Linked DNA regions of Homo sapiens: region 2 is linked to region 1. The links are contacts of gene promoters, found by promoter capture Hi-C in human tissues and cell types (Jung and others, 2019). All regions are on one chromosome and are shown on one strand. Each heading gives the region's core, a stretch centred on a gene start or on the middle of the fragment in contact. The rest is flanking DNA. Distances are from core to core; before and after follow the strand shown. Region 1 holds the start of CRYGA (crystallin gamma A). Region 2 has its middle 14 kb from the start of C2orf80.

Region 1 (3,836 bases), core at 713-3,212:
ATACAGGGAATAAAAGTGTGTTCTTTGTAAGCAATCATCAATACAATTGTAGTCAGTGAGTCTGTAGTGAGGATTTCAACTCTCATTTCCATTTTGACTCCATATAATTGAGTCTTATCAAGCTTGTTTTTGAGTCACTTTTTGCACTTATAATTTACAGTGATTTATATTTACACTGAGTCCACATGTATTTTCAAGTGACATTTTGCCAAGTCACTTGTGCCATTTGGGTTTCTTGCCCCAGAGAAATGCCTATTTTATTTATACCTCTTTGCGCATCTGCAAATTTTTCTGGCCTAAATTTGTTTTTTTATTTTTTTATTTTTTTTTAGACGAAGTCTCGCTCTGTCACCAGGCTGGAGTGCAGTGGCATGATCTCGGCTCACTGCAACCTCCGACTCCTGGGTTCAAGCAATTCTCCTGTCTTAGCCTCCTGCTTAGCTAGGACTACAGGCATGCACCACCATGCCTGGCTAATGTTTTGTATTTTGGTAGAGACAGGGTTTCACCATGTTGGCCAAGCTGGTCTTGAACTCCTGACCTCAAGTGATCTGCCCAGCTCAGCCTCCCAAAGTGCTAGGATTACGGGCGTGAGCCACTGAGCCTGGCCGTGATTTCAATTCTTGAATCTCCTTGTCACACTACATAATTTGGTGCCAACAGAAAGTGTAAATACATGCTGCACGTGATTAAAAAAGATTAAGCAGCATTTTGATGAGGACCATGTTCTATGAAATCCTAATCAATTGTGTGTCTCTGATATTTATAAGAAACTAGTTGATAATGACTCCTGGAAATTATAAATCCACACAAGTTGAAACATATTTTCCTAGGTTCTAGTAAGTCCTAGAATGTAGTGAAAAAAATTTCCAATGCAGTCAGAATACATTATACCTATATTGTTATCTCATAGTCTGTTAACTTTTCATCATTAAAAAATAATTATCATGGCCGGGCGCAGTGGCTCATTCCTATAATCCTAGCACTTTGGGAGGCCGAGGTCGGGAGTTCGAGACCAGCCTGACCAACATGGAGAAACTCTGTCTCTACTAAAAATACAAAATTAGCTGGGCATGGTGGCACATGCCTGTAATCCCAGCTACAAGGGAGGCTGAGGCGGGAGAATCGCTTGAACCTGGGAGGCAGGGGTTGTGGTGAGCTGAGATTGTGCCATTGCACTCCAGCCTAGGCAACAAGAGCGAAAGCGAAGTTCTGTCTCAAAAAAAAAAATTATCTAGATAAACTAGATAGACTTTTCTTTTTTTTCTTTCTTTCTTTTTTTTTTTTTTTACTACTGAATAAGGTGACTTTTATGTAGAAATTAGGGATCACCTAGATGTTACCAAGTTTAATTTAAAGGCTATGTTGTGATTTCCCATGCCCTAAAATGATGTCCTTAAGTAAGAAAAATAGAGATTATTGTTACTTTTTTTTTTTATATATGTTTGAGGGTCAGGCCTTGCTATTCTTACTGTGAACACTCATCCTGTGTTGGAACAAACTGACTTTTATAAACAGGAATTGATGGCCATGGATCATTGATGCTTTCACATCAGTCAAGTTGAAGCAAGACTCACATGAGGAATTATACGGCAGGATTGGACCGAGTCGCTGAGGCCCATCCAGTGCTGATAGTCGGGGTACTTGCCTCGGCGCAGGAAGTACTGGTGGCCCTGGTAATTGGGACGCTCATAGAGCATCCAGCAGCCGCTGTCTACTCGGATGGAGTTGCAGCGGCTGAAGTAGACCCGCAGGTTGGGGCAGTCACTGATGCAATTGTAGCAGCGACCCTGAAAGTCTCGGTCCTCGTAGAAGGTGATCTGAGGTAGAAATAAGGTGACAGTAGACAGTCAGCTGGAAGGAACATCCCCACACACCACAGACCCCCAATAGACATGGCACAGCACCTCCACAGGCTCACCTTCCCCATGGTTGTTGACAGAGGGTGATTAGCATCTAGTATGATAGGGACAAAGGGGCAACTGGTATATATAGCAGGGAAGCTGCTGTGTTGGCAAAAACAACACAAAAGGGACCTGGGGGTGGTGCGTAGGGGGATTTCTGTATTCTCTTTTTTTTTTCATTTGAGATCATGGGGCAGTGGGCTCTCTCTCTTTCTGGCATTTTCGAGTTGTCCTCACTAGCTCCAGTGAAAGGTATTAAAGTCAGCAGAGCCATTATGACCTTGGAGACAAAGGGCACACTTCTCATCCTATGCAGCTCACTAGAAATGCATTACATGCCCAGCATTCTGCAATGTTTGCCTATGGAAACTGCTGAGATGGAGGTTGGTGGTTCCATCTGAGGTCACTTATGAGAACACATGCGTTCCAGAAGGACTTGAAGTGTGAAGAGGCAACAAAAAAAATCCCAGACAGAAAATCCTCTAATTGAAAGACAATTATATTTCTTAAGTGACTTCATCAGTATGATAGGGTTTTGATAAAAATATTTTGCCTATATTTATGTAGGGAAAACATAAGATTAGAAGTGTGTACTATACCAACATATCAATCATGGTAATCAATGAATGGCAAGATTATAGATCTTAGCTTTATGTTGTTATATTTTGTTTTTTGCTGCTGTTTTCTTAATTTTCTATTATATCTGCCATCTTCAGCCAGACAGAAAAAAAAATTCGATTATAAATATAACAATTTCATGAGATGAAAAAATAATAAAATCAATCTTTAAATGTATGACTTTGAGGTGCTGGTGAAAAGCAGTAAATACTGGAAGCAGGTATATTTAATCAAGAGATTAAACACTTCTTGAGCTAAAAATAAAAAGAAACCCTGAGAATCTGTGAGAGGCTCGAAGAGCAGAAAAATACACAGGAACATTTCACTCCCCTCCCCCTGCCACCCTCCTTCTAGCATTGCTTTTATTTTTTAAAATTAGCGTGATGATTTGCCTGTGTTTTTCCTTTCAATAGTATCACTGTTTCATTGAACCCAAGTGACTGCCTAACAGCCTTCTCCATTGCTGCCAACTTATTGATTTAGAAGTACTCCTCAGATGTGCAAGTGTGGAGGAAGACTCCAAACCCCAGACTGTCTTTTGTCATTCCACATGTATGTAGGAAGATGAAATCAAACACCTTTGTGCTTTAGACCCACCGAGGGATTCTAAAAGAGTATTTGACCACAGCTAGCAACACATTCACAATGTCATTTGTGAAAATCCTCAGGCAGCATGTAAGGCAAACGCGCAGGTGGTAAAAGGAGAGACAGCAGTAGCTACCGAGAAAAAAATGTTTCCTCATAACTAGCAGAGCTAGGCAAAAGAAAACTGGGTGAAGTCCTATGAAGCTAAACACCTAGCAGTGCATGCAGGGACCGCAAGTTGCTGATTCCCTCCTTTGCCTCCCCCTAATTAGCTGCAGGCTTACTGGTAAATCTTAGAACCATAATCAAACCCAGTGTGGAAAACGCTGCATTGGTCTCCCAGCCCCACATGAGAATATACCACCATTTTCAGAAAAAGTCTACAATCTCCATCTGTGTTTTTGTACATGCTGATGAAAACTGTTCTGTAGACAGATGGCACACCAAAACCTTAAGAAATGTATTATGTGTACTGACATTCATGTGATCAAGTTGTTATTACATACATTGATAGGCTAAGCCATGTGCCTAATCAGCATTTTGGAAAGGTACTAAAAGACCAGAACATCTTCCCTCCTAGTAGTCATTATAGTCTACTGAGAGAAAGCCTGTATTCATTTTTTTAATGCTTTATTGAAATGATTTAAACATTCTTTTCATATGAGAACACAGTAAAGGCAATCAATGACAGATTAATTTTATTTTGGATTAACTCTTTGGAAATCTGCC
Region 2 (3,886 bases), core at 1,048-3,547, 41 kb after region 1:
CTTAGTTGTTTTGTTACTATTATCGTTGTTTTTAAGGAAGATATTTCCAAGGGTAGCACTTCAGGATGATTTGTCTCCTTGAGTTTGTTGAGAAATAAAAGGTCTGGGTAAGGCCAATCATGTCATGTTTCCAAAACATCTCTTGGAAAAAAATTAAGGTGGCCATATTAACTGTCTTTTCTTCACTGTGTTCTTCTTGAAGGCAGAGTCTTTGTCCTATTGGTATTTGTCCTTTATGAGGGCAGTGAATAGAAGAGATTCTCCTAGCTTCCTGCCAGCAACGCCTCTCACATTGAGGCTGAGCAGCATTTCTATCTTTATAGAATTGCAGTATAATAGGAAAAATGAAAATAAAAAGTCAAAATTTGTTTGTAAAAACTGTCATATGTTTTAAATGGTGAATTAAATATAAAAATATTTGAATTATAATGTAATATAAATGTGCTGTTTAGAAAATAATCGGAAGAAAAGGATATGAATCCATCGTGATCTAGAAATAAGATATAAGTTTAAAGTTGACCCATGAAGATTTTTGTGTTTGTTTTCTTCAACTCCAAGTGTAGATACAATTAGAGTGATGTCAAGAGTGGGGTGAATATGAGGTGGAGACATAATAGACCCCCTGGCCTGTCACTTCATCCTCATCCACACTCTAAGATAAGTCTACTTATTAGGTCCAGATGTGGTGGCTCATGCCTGTAATCCCAGCACTTTGGGAAGCCAAGTGGGTGAATTGCTTGAGCCCAGGAGTTCCAGACCAGCCTGGGCAACTTGGCCACACCCCGTCTCTACAGAATTTAAAAAAAAAAAAAAAAAAAAAAAAAGCTGGCTATAGTGTCACGTGCCTGTAGTCCAAGCTACTTGGGAAGCTGAGGCAGGAGGATCACCTAAGTCCAGGGAGGTCGAGACTGCAGTGAACCATGGTCACGCCACTGCATTCCAGTCTGGGCAACAGAGTAAGACTGCTTCAAAAAAAAAAAAAGTCTCCTTATTAGATACACAAGCTGTTAAAGATATCTTAAGATAGAAACTGTATGTTACAGAACTTGTATGTTTAAAATATTACCTATTAGGCCAGGCGTGGTGGCTCATGCCTGTAATCCCAGCACTTTAGAAGAACAAGGCAGGCAGATCACTTGAGATCAGGAGTTCGAGACCAGCCTGGCCAACATGGAGAAACCCCATCTCTACTAAGAACACAAAAATTACCCAGGCTTGGTGGTACATGCCTGTAATCCCAGCTACTCGGGTGGCTGAGGCATGAGAATCACCTGAACCTGGGGAGGCTGCAGTGAGCCCAGATTGTGCCAATGCACTCCAGCCTGGGTGAAAGAGAAAGACTCTGTCAAAAAAAAAAAAAAAAGAAAGAACAGAAAAGAAAAAAAGGAAAGTTAACTTGTAAAATTAGACTGATTTTATTACTTCTAACTTAAAACTGTGGCTTTTCTCTGTACCAGCTGGTTTGGATGCAGGCGGGATCGCTGTTTGGATAGATGGTCAAGGGATTTGAGTTGGAAACATGGAATCACAGGCTGTAAGAACTAGAAGGGTAATATTGAGTAAAATTTTCTGCCTCAGAGGACAAGAAATATCCCTAAGGCCACAGATAAGCTGAGGCCAGAAGCCAGGCCTCATAATTGAGAGCCCAAGTGACCTTGTTGTTACAAACACACTTTAGAAGGCTTCAAACATGAAACAGAAGCTTCAGGTTGTTCAAAACAGCGCTCCTTTATCCATCTCCCTCCTTGTTGAAATAAATTATAGTTAGCTTTCCCATTTGTCCTAGGATATTTGATACTGTGATAAGCCATGCCTTGTTGATCCTAAAGTGAAGAAGTGAATTGCCTGTGTTAATCACATGAAACCTTGTTTCATTCCATTCCTTAAATTCTCAAAAGCAAACTTGCCTCAAAAAACTGTGTAAACTATACTCAACTAAAGACTCGTCTCACTAACACAGTAGAATGAAAGAAGGCAGTCGCAGAACACACATGATCTGATTCATGTATATAAAGTACAAAAAATGGTAAAACGACTCTAGGCTTTTGGAAGCCAGGGGAACGGTTACTAAATCTTTGTTGCCAGGATGTGGAAGGGGCACATCTGGGGACTTCCTGTGTTCTCTAACATTCTGGGTCTTGATCTGGGGCTAACAAGGGAATGTTCAACTTGTAAAAATTCACCGAGCTGTATACTCATGATATGTGCTGTTTTCTATATATTTATTGTATTTCAATTAAAAATTCTACAAATGGACAGAAGAATTAGTAATTGTCATGGGTCCATCTTAATGTGCCTGGGATGAGCAAAATTTAGAAACAGAGTTATTTATAATCTGTTCTGTTAGATTAGATCCCATCTCTAGAGCCACATCTAGAAGCATGAAGTTGAATTTTACTGAGCTTTTCTGCAAGAATAAAATAGTTCTTTTTAAATTTGGTGCCAGCTCAGAAAAAGTTATCTTTGTATTGCTGTTAGAGAGAGGTAGTTGTTTGTTTGTTTATTTGTTTTTTTAAGATGGAGTCTCACCCTGTCGCCCAGGCTGGAGTGCAATGGTGCGATCTCAGCTCACTGCAACCTCCGCCTCCCAGGTTCAAACGATTCTCCTGCCTCAGCCTCCTAGGTAGCTGGGATTACAGGTGTGCACCGCCATGTCTGGCTAATTTTTATATTTTTAGTAGAGACAGGGTTTCACCATGTTGGCCAGGCTGGTCTCGAACTTCTGATCTTGTGATCCACCCACCTCGGCCTCCCAAAGTGCTGGGATTACAGGCGTGAGCCACTGTGCCTGGCCGAGAGGTAGTTTTAATTGCCCTTGCTGCCTCCAAAATCCTGTGTTTTGTGAGATATGAACATTCATTTCATCAGTTATTCCATGATAATCTGCAAAAAAGGGTTCATACCAGAAGAGATGAAGACAGCAAGGCTGGATTCTCAGAAACAGTGAGTAAAAATAACTTGCAGAATCTCTATGGTGAAATTCCTTTGTGTCCACTCTACTCTGGGCATAATATACCTAATTGGTATATTCTTTTTTTTTTTTTTTGAGACGGAGTTTTGCTCTTGTCACCCAGGCTGGAGTGCAATGGCGTGATCTCAGCTCACTGCAACCTCTGCCTCCCAGGTTCAAGCAATTCTCCTGCCTCAGCCTCCCAAGTAGCTGGGATGACAGGCGCATGCCACCACGCCCAGCTAATTTTTTTATTTTTAGTAGAGACGGGGTTTCACCATGTTGGTCATGCTGGTCCCAATCTCCTCATCTCAAGTGATCCACCAGCCTCGGCCTCCCAAAGTGTTGGAATTACAGGCATGAGCCACCATGCCAGTCCCCTAATTGCTATATTCTTGATGACAAGTATCAGAAAATTATTTGATTTAAGCTCTTTGATTAAAGCTCATTTAATTTAAGCTCATTTTCTTCTTTCAAAAATTGATTATCATTCAAAGTCATCTTCTTGGGAAACATTACTGTTTTTGGGTTGTAATACAAAATAATTACAATTCTTCTTGGTTGGTTGTCACTCCTATTTCATGTGTTCATCCATACGGCCATTTATTCATTTTTACAGACATCTTTCTATACATATTCATGAAGCTTGGAAGGACACATCCCCTGCTGACTTACCTGGCTCATAAATTTGGAAGTACCTTCAGTTTACTCCTCTGTGACAGGATCAGGCCCTATGGGGGAGGTAGGCCTGTGGTATATAGCAATGCAGTGACTTGAGGGGTGAGACAGCCCCAATAAGGGCATTAGCAGGTATTAATAAGGGAGCTTCGCTAGATCCAAGCCATTCCTTCAATATCAGCTTCATCAGTAATTAAATTGACATTTTCTTTGCCTGGTTTCTGTGTCTAGCTCTCAGTGGCTCCAAATTTGAGCAAA

The links. The method cuts DNA at HindIII sites, captures the fragments that hold promoters and counts their contacts. A contact is called where the count stands out against the background at its distance.
Region 2: a contact is called between a fragment that was not itself captured here and the fragment with the promoter of CRYGA in region 1, in 1 of the 25 tissues and cell types used here (H1 embryonic stem cells).

Annotation. Positions count from the first base shown.
Region 1 is chr2:208,161,627-208,165,462 of GRCh38, forward strand. CRYGA (crystallin gamma A) reads right to left here and starts at 1,963. Exons shown (of 3, transcript NM_014617.4): 1 at 1,922-1,963; 2 at 1,578-1,820. The coding sequence starts at 1,930. It overlaps C2orf80 (chromosome 2 open reading frame 80), which reads right to left. Exons shown (of 9, transcript NM_001099334.3): 9 at 3,721-3,836. The HindIII fragment of the contact is 14,122 bases long and covers 1-3,836 here.
Region 2 is chr2:208,202,272-208,206,157 of GRCh38, forward strand. No RefSeq gene overlaps it. Among named protein-coding and RNA genes, the nearest start is that of C2orf80, 14 kb to the left of the region's middle. The HindIII fragment of the contact is 3,472 bases long and covers 562-3,886 here.